Linked DNA regions of Homo sapiens: region 1 is linked to region 2. The links are contacts of gene promoters, found by promoter capture Hi-C in human tissues and cell types (Jung and others, 2019). All regions are on one chromosome and are shown on one strand. Each heading gives the region's core, a stretch centred on a gene start or on the middle of the fragment in contact. The rest is flanking DNA. Distances are from core to core; before and after follow the strand shown. Region 1 has its middle 36 kb from the start of SOAT2. Region 2 holds the start of ESPL1 (extra spindle pole bodies like 1, separase).

Region 1 (5,436 bases), core at 2,054-4,553, 130 kb after region 2:
CCACGCCCGGCTAAATTTTTTGTATTTTTTTTTAGTAGAGACAGGGTTTCACCGTGTTAGCCAGAATGGTCTCGATCTCCTGACCTCATGATCCGCCCGCCTCAGCCTCCCAAAGTGCTGGGATTACAGGCGTGAGCCACGCACCCGGCCTTTTTTTTTTTTTTTTTTTTTTTTTTTTGAGACAGAGTCTTGCTCTGTTGCCCAGGCTGGAATGCAGTGGCACAATCTCTGCTCACTGCAACATCCACCTCCCGGGTTCAAGATATTCTCCTGCCTCAGCCTCCTTTGTAGCAGGGATTACAGGCGCCCACCACCATGCCCGGCCAATGTTTGTATTTTTAGTAGAGATGGGGTTTCACCATGTTGGCCAGGCTGGTCTCAAACTCCTGACCTCTGAAAGTGCTGGGATTACAGGCGTGAGCCACCGCGCCCTGCCAGTATGTAGCTTTTAAAATCTTTGTAGCTATCTTATTTAGGAACAAAATGGGAGACAGTTTTGCCTGACCCAGTTCCCAGCTTGACTTTTCCCTTTGGTGTAGTGTGTTGGGTGTCCTAAGATTTATTTTCCTTTCAGAATATTAACAGACTAAAAACTAAAATTTGCATTATCCTCTCAATAGATGCAGAAAAGACATTTAATAAAATCCAATACCCATTCCTGTTTTTTTTTTTTTTTTTTTTGAGACGGAGTCTTGCTCTGTCACCCAGGCTGGAGTGCAGTGTCATGATCTCGGCTCACTGCAACCTCCTGGGTTCAAGTGATTCTCCTGCTTCAGCCTCCCGAGTAGTTGGGATTACAGGTGCGTGCTACCACACCTGGCTGATTTTTGTATTTTTATAGAGATGTGGTTTCACCATGTTGGCCAGGCTGTTCTACAAACTCCTGACGTCAGGTGATCCACCCACCTCGGCCTCCCAAAGTGCTGGGATTACAGGCATGAGCCACTGTGCCCGGCCCCAATATCCATTCCTAATGTAGGTTGAACATCCCTAATGCAAAATCCAAAATCTGAAATGCTCTGACATTTGAAACGTATTTTTTTCTTATCATACCCTGACTGGTCTGAAAATCTGAAACTTTTTGAGTACTGACATGACACTCAAAGGAAATGCTTATTGTAGCATTTCAGAATTTTGATTTTCTGATTAGGGATGCTCATATAAAGTATAATGCAAATATTCCAAAATCCAAAAAAAGTCTGAAATCCAAAACACTTCTGGTCCCAAGCATTTCAGATAAGAAATATTAAACATGTAAAAACATTCAGCTGGCCAGGCAGTGGCTCGCACCTGTAATCCCAGCACTTTGGGAGGCCGAGGTGGAAGGATCACTTAAGACAAGGAGTTCAAGACCAGCCTGGGCAATGTAGTGAGATCTCATCTCTACCAAAAAAATTTTTTTAAATTAACAGTGTGTGGTGGTGTAAGTCTATAGTCCCAGCTACTCTGGGGGCTAAGATGGGACGATTGCTTGAGCCCAGGAGGTCAAGTCTGCAGTGAGCTATTATTGCACTACTGCACTCCAGTCTGGGCAACAGAGCAGCACTCTGTCTCAAACAAAACAAAACAAAACAAAGCAAAACAAAACAAAACAAAAAAGCAAAATTCAGCTGACTAGGAATAGAAAGTGTGAAGAATTTGGCCTTGCCCAAGGAAAGGCCTGGCCATTGTCCCTGGCTCCTGAGAGGTAGCCTCTAAACCCATGGAATTCCCCAAGTGGTAAGAATATTTCTCAAGCTGGGCACTGTGGTGTGCACCCAGCTACTCAGGATGCTGAGGTGGGAGGATCACTTGAGCCCAGAAGTTTGAGGCTGCAGTAAACTCTGATCACACCACTGCACTCCAGCCTGAGTAACAGACTGAGACCCTGTCTCTTAATAAAAAGTTTATTTCTTTGTTATTCAAGTGGGCCCCTAAGATTACATCTGATAGTTTATGCTAATGAGGTGACTCATGATGGGCTCCTTGATGGATCTCACCATGATACTGGCCTAACTTCCAGGGATAGGGGAGGGAGATGGGAGACTGAGTTCAACCACCATCATGCCTGTATAATGAAAACTCCAATAAAAACTCTGGACACTGAAGTTAGGACGAGCTTCCTGGATTTGCAACACTCTGTGTGCACTTTCACACATCGATGCTGAGAGGATAACATCTCCTGATGACAATGAAAGCTTTGCATTTGGAATCCTCCTAGACTCTGCTCTATGTGCCCCTTCCCATGGCTGATTTTAGAGTATCCTTTCTCTGGAATAAACTGTGACCTTGAGAATAATAGCTAGCTTTCACTGAGTTCTGTCACTTCTTTTTTTTTGAGATGGAGTCACACTCTGTCGCCCAGGCTGGAGTGCAATGGCACGATCGATCTCGGCTCACTGCTTCACCTCCCAGGTTCAAGCAATTCTCCTGCCTCAGCCTCCCAAGTAGCTGGGACTACAGGCATGCGCCACCATACCTGGCTAATTTTTGTATTTTTAGTAGAGATGGGATTTCACCATGTTGGCCAGGCTGGTCTCGAACTCCTGAAGAAGAAAAATCTAAAACCTCCTCGGCCTCCTAAAGTGCTGGGATTACAGGCATGAGCCACCACATCTAGCCTGAGTTCTGTCACTTCCTCAGTGAATTGTTCGACCGGAGGGTGGTTTTGGGAAAACCCCAAACTTGAAGCTAATATCAGAAGTAAGGACAGTATTGTGGAGGACTGGGTTCTTAGACCTTGCAGTTTGGCTGACTTGGGGGGTAGAAGGCAACTTTCTCAACCTCATGGGAGCATATACAAAAAAAAAAAAAAATCTACAACTGTAAACACCTATATTTGAAAAGTAGAGAGATCTCAAATCAATTAACTAAACTTCTACCCTAAGACACTGGAAAAAGAGCAAACTAAACCTAAAGCAAGAAGAATGAAGGAAATAACGTATATTAGAGTTTAAATTAATGAAACAGGCAACAGAAAAACACTAAAGAAAATCAACAAAATGAATAGTTGGTCCTTTGAAAAGATCAACAAGGCTAGACTGATTAAGAAAAAAACAGAGAAAGGCTGGGTATGGTGGCTCACATCTGTAATCCCAGTCCTCTGGGAGGCCAAGGTGGGAAGATCACTTGAGGCCAGGAGTTCAAGACCAGCCTCAGTGTGCTCTCTTTGGCAGCACATATACTAAAATTGGAACAATACAGAGAAGATTAGCATGGCCCCTGCACAAGGATGATGTGCAAATTTTTGAAGTGTTCCATATTTTTAAAAATTTTTAAATTAAGAAAATATATGTAAATATATCTAAATTATAAAATTTAAAATATATATACCTATAAAAAAGTATATGTATATATATTTCATGACATTTATATATATGTATAATAACATATATATATATATTTGGGAGGCCAAGGCAGGTGGATCACTTGAGGTCAGGAGTTTGAGACCAGCCTGGCCAACATGGTGAAACACTGTCTCTACTAAAAATACAAAAAAAAAAAATTTAGTCGGATGTGGTGACACCTGCTTGCAATCCCAGCTATTCTGGAGGCTGAGGTGGGAAGATCACTTGAACCTGGGAGGTGGAGGTTGTGGAGGTTGCAGTGAGCCAAGATCGCATCACTGCTCTCCAGCCTGGATGACAGAGTGAAACTCTGTCTCAAAAAAAAAAAAAAAAAAAAAAAAAAAAAAAAATATATATATATATATTTATATATATTTATATATCTATATCTATCTATCTATCTATCTATCTATCTATCTATCTATATATAGAGAGACCCCATCGCTCCAAAAAAATGAAAAATAAAAAAAATTAGCCAGTTATGATGACATGTACCTGTAGTCCTAGCTACCTGGGAGGCTGAGGCAGGAGGATTGCTTGAGCCCAGGAGTTCAAAGTTACAGTGAGCTACAATCACACTACCGCACTCCAGCCTGGGTGACTGAGTGAGATCCTGTCTCTCTAAAACAAGAACAGAAACAAAAAATGGAGAAGATTCAAATTAACTAAACTCAGGAATGAAAGAGGGAGCATTACTACTGACCTTTCAAAAATAAGGAAGGTTATAAGGGTATACTATAAATGACTATGCCAACAAATTAGATACCTTAGATGAAATAGACAAATACCTAGAAAATCACAAACTACTGAAATTGATTCAAGAAGAAATATAAATTCTGAATAGACCTATAATAAAAAGAGAAAGAGTAATTGGATAAGTAATCTAAAAGCATTTCACAAAGAAAAGTGAAGGCTTTAATGGTGAATTTTACAAAACATTAAAGACTTAACACCAATTCTTCACAAATTCTTCCAAATAACAGAAGAGAGAATACTTCTAAACTCATCCTATGAGGGCAGTATTAATCCTGATACCAAAACAATACAAAAACATCAGAAGAAAATTATATACCAATATGTCTTATGAATTTAGATGCAAAAATCCTGAACTAGCCAACCAAATTCAGCAACATATAAAAAGGGTTGGCCAGGCACAGTGGCTTACACCTGTAATCTTAGCACTTTGGGAGGCCGAGGCAGGCGGATCATGAGGTCAAGAGATTGAGACCATCATGGCTAACACGGTGAAACCCTGTCTCTACTAAAAATACAAAAATTAGCTGGACATGGTGGCATGCACCTGTACTCCCAGCTACTAGGGAGGCTGAGGCAGGAGAATAGCTTGACCCAGGAGGCGGAGATTGCAGTGAGCCAAGATCGTGCCACCATACACCAGCCTGGCAACAGAGTGAGAGTCTGTCTCAAAAAAAAAAAAAAGAGTTATATACCATGACAAAGTAGGATTTGTATCAGAAATGCAAGGTTGGTTTGACATCCAAAATCAATTAATGTATTATGCCATATCAATAGAACAGAGGACAAAACCCACATTTCAATGTGGTCTGTTGATGACCTCAATACACACAGCTTGGCTGGGATGGTGAAACCCTGTCTCTACTAAAAATACAAAAAAAAAAAAAAATTAGCTGGGCATGGTGACGGGCACCTGTAATCCCAGCTACTTGGGAGGCTGAGGCAGGAGAATCACTTGAACCCAGGAGGTGGAGGTTGCAGTGAGCTGAGATCGCGCCACTGCACTCCAACCTGAGCGACAGAGTGAGACTCTATCTCAAAAATAAAAAAAAAAGAAAAGAAAAAAAAAACCTCAACAAACTAGATATAGAAGGGGATTTTTCTCAACCTGATAAAGGGTAGCTACAAAAACCCTCTGCTAATGTCACACCTAATGATGAAAGTCTAAATGTTTTCCCTCTGAGATCAAGAACAAGACAAGAATGTCCACTCTCTGTGCTTCTATTCAACACTGTACTGCAGGTTCTGTCCATGGCAATTAGGTAAGAAAATGAAATTTATTTCATATACAGCTGGGCATGGGGGCTTACATCTGTAATCCCAGCACTTTGGGAGGTGGAAGTGGGTGGATCACTTG
Region 2 (5,154 bases), core at 2,247-4,746:
GAATAAATGATAATAACTTATTTATGCAGCTTCTTGGCCATCAACATAGATGACTGGGAGAAAATAAAGTCAGTCTTCAGTACTCTGTGGGAAGAATTCTCCTTTTTTTTTGAGATGGAGTTTCGCTCTTGTTGCCCAGGCTGGAGTGCCCTCTTGCCCAGGCTGGAGTGCAGTGGTGCAATCTTGGCTCACTGCAACCTCCACCTTGCAGGTTCAAGCGACTCTCCTGCCTCAGCCTACCAAGTAGCTGGGATTACAGGCATGCACCACCTTGCCTGGCTAGTTTTCTATTTTTAGTAGAGACAGGGTTTCAGGGAAGCCAAGGTGGGCAGATCACTCGAGTCCAGGAGTTCAAGACCAGCCTGGACAATATGGCCAGACATCATCTCTACAAAAAATACAAAAATTAGCCAGGCATAGTGGTGCGCGCCTGCAGTCCCAGCTACTTGGGAGGCTGAGGCAGGAGAGTCGCTTGAACCTGCAAGGTGAGCTCGTTGCGGGGCTGAGGTGGGAGGATCGCTTGAGCCTGGGAGGTTGAGACTGTGTTGAGCCGTGATTGTGCCAGTGCACTCCAGCCTAGGTGACAGAGCAAGACCTTGTCTCAAAAAAAAAAAAAAAAAAACACTTAAATATACAGAAAGGTCATTTGTAATGATTTCTGGATTCTGATAAGTGAAGAAAAGGAAAAAAAAACATTAAAAAATATAGAAATAAAAAAATATGTTGAAAGGTCATAAGGTTGCATATTAGGTGCAACTGTTAATGCCAAGTTAGATTCCAGTCGAGGAAATAGTGTCTGCTGTTGTAAGTTAGCTTCATCACTTCTCTACTGGTGTTAAACACAGAGTAGCTGGTACTTATAAACATTTCTCTCACTGCCTCCTTGAACCATAAGGAACCCTCACAGTGGTCAGAACCACGCAGCAAGTACTATTCACCTGCCTAATGGGTGATGACCCTCCCACAAACTCTGTGCCTGGGACCCAGGGCACTAACCGGTCATCCCCATGTGGTCCGTCAGCTCTTGGCCCGACAGGCCCTCTAAGGCCTCCAGCATCCAGACAACGGTAGATTTACAACTGTCCACTAGTTGGGTCAGGTCAGCCAAATCAACTATCTGAAGGGACAAGAAGGGTTTGAGAGTGAGGAGTCATGCTGGGTCCAAGATGACCTCCACCGCACTCCACACCCAAAGCCAAGCAACCCCAAAGCTGTTTGAGGGCAGTGGAGCAACCCCAAAGCTGTTTGAGGGCAGTGGAGCAACCCCAAACCCTATGAGCCTAGTCCAGGTACCTTGATTCCCAGACAGTACCTGACAGCCTTGGGCAAAGTCATAAACCACCACAGTGTAGAGGTGAAGTCCCTGAAAGTACATCTGAAGAAAAGACTGCTGTTGCTTGGAGGAGCCCCCATACACCTGAGGAAGGAAGCGGAAGGTTGGTATGAGGAGTAGAGATAAAGAGGGCTCCAAGCTGAAGACTGACCCGGAGTCCTGGAGAGCTGACAGAGCCCAGGGAGCACGAGGAAGGACATCCAGAAGGGCCACTGCCCTCTCAGGATAGACTAGGCTGTTTGCTGGCTCGCTAGGCACTGTCCAGAGAGCAGCTTAACAAGGAGGGAGCCAGGACCTCCAGATCTTGCCAAATACCCTAGGCTGGTAGTGAGTCCACAGACCACGTCCCCACCCTACCTCCAGGTCCTTAACTCACACCATCATCCCGCAGCTGCTGCAGAAGAGAGCAGTACCCTCCAAGAAAAGCAAAGAGGCTCAGAATGGCATCAAGTCTATAGCGCCTCTTGGTGCCTCGTTCCAGGCCTGAAAGGAAGAACTGGCAGCTCTCATACAATGCCCGAAGTGGGGGTGATGGTGCCTCCATACTCTTGCTCAGGACAGCTGATGCCTTGATCAGAAGCTTGGCCACTGCCTGAGGTCCTTCCTCCCCAACCTGCAGCAGCTTAACCCCCAGCTGACATAGCTGAAGGCTAGGGGCTAGATTGGTGTTCCTTAGGTAACTGTGAGCCTTCTCCACTGCGCTGATGGCTTTGTCATGGTGGCGGCTCCAGCAAAAGCGACGGCAGTGTTCCAAGGTGAGCTCCAAGAGGCAGAGGGCCCTCTGGGGAGAAAGAAGCCCAGAAGAGCTCCCTCTCTCACCCACCAAGGCTCTGATCACGTGCCTGGAGAGCAGGTCATCTAGGAAATCAGCATCTGCTTCATTTAGACCATGGCCACTGGCATCAAATAGCTGATGGGCAGCTACCGCTCGACAGGCTGTTGGAGAAGCAAAGTGAGGAACCTCACAAGGGGTACTTTCATCCTCCAAGAGTACTAGGAAGCTCAAGGCCTTCAGCCGAGCTGCAAATGCAGCTCGCCGTTCCAACAGGGCTTCTGCCCCCTTCCAAAGCAGAGAAAAGCTGCCCCGAGCCACGGCCTCATAGTCCTGGGGAGCAGCCTCGCGAGAGCACTGCACCAAGCAGGCATGGAGGGGCTGAGCAAGGCGGAGTGTGGCCTCTGGGCTTCCTTGTGCAGCAGCATTCCGCAGTAAGACAAAGAGAATTCGTTCCAGGTAGAGGGGAGGACGCTGTGGGGTAGACACTAAGTAGCCATCACAGGCCAGCTCTGCCAGCTCCAGCAGGCTCCCCAGATGCCTAGGGCAAGCTAGCTTAGCAGTCAGCTGCTGGTTGCAAGCCCTCAGGATGGCATCACAAGCTTGTCTCCTCTCAGCATCAGATCGGCTGCTGGGAAAACCAGCTGGAGGGTTGGACAGGAACTCCTAGGAGTAGAGAAAGATATGAATGGGGCTAGCAAAGGCAGGAAAGAGGTAGAGAAAGTAACTAGAAATAGGGTTACTCAGAGAGGGTCGCCTACTTATCCATCTCTTCAAAAGGCAAACACAAAACAGCTCAGTTTGGAAAGCCAGGTGTATCCCGAGCCAGGCAGCACCCCCACCTTCAAGGCGGGCAGCAACTCTTCAGCCTCCTTCTGGCTGCTTAGCAGAGTCCCAAAGTTGACTCTTTTGAAGCTCCTCATGACACCGGAGAGCTAGGGAAAAGGAGACCAATTAGAGAAGATTGTTAATGAAGCTAACTGGAGGAAGGGAAGAGGGCTGAAGGTCGTGGAAGGAGGCAAAGAATCACATCAGAAATTTCATCGGGGAGAAAACCCACGCCAGGACGCCGTGCTCCCGTTATAAAAGGACGATTCCGCTCTTCCTTCCTCCGGGCAGATCCCCGACCGCACTACCACACCACTCGCCGCGCTACCCCAGAGGCCTCGGCCCAGCCCTTCAGCGGCCCGGGGCAGTCCCAAGGCCTCCCGACACTCCCTCCAGGAGCCACCCACGCCTCTCCTCGCGTCAGCGCTGGGGATCCCCTTCACTTCAGCACGTACCCACGCTCACGAGTCCCTTCCGGCCTTACCGCCCCAGAGCTCGCCCTCTTTCCTAGGTACAGGACTTAACCGCCTGACCAGTACTCCGCGAGGATCCAAAATGTAACCTTCGTTTTCCGCGCCAGACCCTCCTTTCAAATATCCGCGGCTGCCAATCAGCGGGCGCGGCGCAACGCCGGGCGCGCGGCACGCTGGGAGTTGTAGTTTACCCGCCGCGCTGCGCGCTCCCGCGGCGCCCCGGAGGGTCTTGCTGCTCTGCGCGTTAGGGCCTCTTGGGGGTGCGGGTTTCCCCCTTTTTTCCAGTCAGAGCTCAGTTTCTCAGCTACCTGTCGCTTAGTCGCTATCGGTAATGCCACCCCTTTTCCTCCTTTATCTTCAGAGCTCAGGCAAGAGTTTAAGTTTCAAGAGAAGAGAAATAACAAAAAGAACTTAGGAACTCACGCGGTTTGGGTTACTAGAAAAAAAGGGCTTAGACTTCTACGAATTTTTTTTTTGATAGGGTCTTGCTCTGACACACAGGCTGGAGTGCAGTGGCGTGATCACAGCTCACTGCAGCTTCAAACTCCCGGGCTTAAGTGATCCTCCCACCTCAGCCTCCCAAAGTGCTGACTACGGGCGTGCACCGCCACGCCCAACTTCCTACGAAATTATTTTAAAGATGGTTTTCTAGGGGAACTACAATGAGTACCCGTAGCGACCTCCAGCTCTCTCTCTGCCTTCCAGCCTTACTCCTTCTATTGGTTGTATGAGAAAGACAAGATCTGGTGCTCTTCGATGGGGGAGAGAGGGTAGTGGGGTGGGGTGGGAGTTGTGAGTAGCAGGAAGAACTATGGAAATTCATTCCCTGGGATATTTCACAGTCTTTAATGGCTTATGTTTTTAAGTACTAACCACTTCCCCAAACACAGATTCAGCTGTCTCTTTCCTTCCTCCACCAAAGAATTCAGCTCAAAAGTGGTTATCAGCTTGTCGCTGATGAACTCTACTGGATAACTCATCCTTCTCCATCATCATAGAGCTCTTTTATGAGTTGAGAATCTAGCAGGGAAGATTATTTTTGTAAAAAGAAAGAAAAGAAGGCCGGGCGCGGTGGCTCACGCCTATAATCCCAGCACTTTAGGAGGCCGAGGTGGGTGGATCACTTGAGAACCAGCCTGACCAACATGGTGAAACCCCATCTCTACTAAAAATACAAAAATTAGCTGCTGTGGCATCGGGGGCCTGTAGTCCCAGCTACTTGGGAGGATCGCTTGAACCCGGGAAGCGGAGGTTGCAGTGAGCTGAGATCCCGCCACTGTACTGCAGTCTGGGTGACAGAGCAAGACTCTGTCTCAAAAAAGAAAACCAAAAAAAAGGCCGGGCGCGGTGGCTCACGCCTGTAATCCCAGCACTTTGAGAGACCGAGGCGGGCGGATCACGAGGTCAGGAGATCGAGACAATCCTGGCCAACATGGTGAAACCCCGTCTCTACTAAAAATACAAAAAATTAGCCGGGCGTGGTTGCAGGCTCCTGTAGTCCCAGCTACTCGGGAGGCTGCGCTAGGAGAACGGCGTGAACCCGGGAAGCGGAGCTTGCAGTGAGCCAAGATCGCGCCACTGCACTCCAGCCTGGGCTACAGAGCGAGACGACTCTGTCTCAAAAAAAAAAAAACCAAAAAACAAACAAACAAACAAAAAAAACCCAAAAGAAAATTATTCATCACAGTACTCAATTCCTCTTGCTTACACCTTAGCTATCAGTGTTCATTTACCTATTGTTTAGCAAG

What was found. The method cuts DNA at HindIII sites, captures the fragments that hold promoters and counts their contacts. A contact is called where the count stands out against the background at its distance.
Region 1: a contact is called between a fragment that was not itself captured here and the fragment with the promoter of ESPL1 in region 2, in 2 of the 25 tissues and cell types used here (mesenchymal stem cells and neural progenitor cells).

Annotation. Positions count from the first base shown.
Region 1 is chr12:53,136,355-53,141,790 of GRCh38, reverse strand. It overlaps the pseudogene RNU6-333P. Among named protein-coding and RNA genes, the nearest start is that of SOAT2, 36 kb to the right of the region's middle. The HindIII fragment of the contact is 5,451 bases long and covers 578-5,436 here.
Region 2 is chr12:53,266,641-53,271,794 of GRCh38, reverse strand. It overlaps ESPL1 (extra spindle pole bodies like 1, separase), which reads right to left and starts at 3,496. Exons shown (of 31, transcript NM_012291.5): 1 at 3,418-3,496; 2 at 2,948-3,040; 3 at 1,710-2,771; 4 at 1,313-1,417; 5 at 997-1,117. The coding sequence starts at 3,028. RefSeq lists enhancers at 3,050-3,129, 3,190-3,559. The HindIII fragment of the contact is 10,197 bases long and covers 2,311-5,154 here.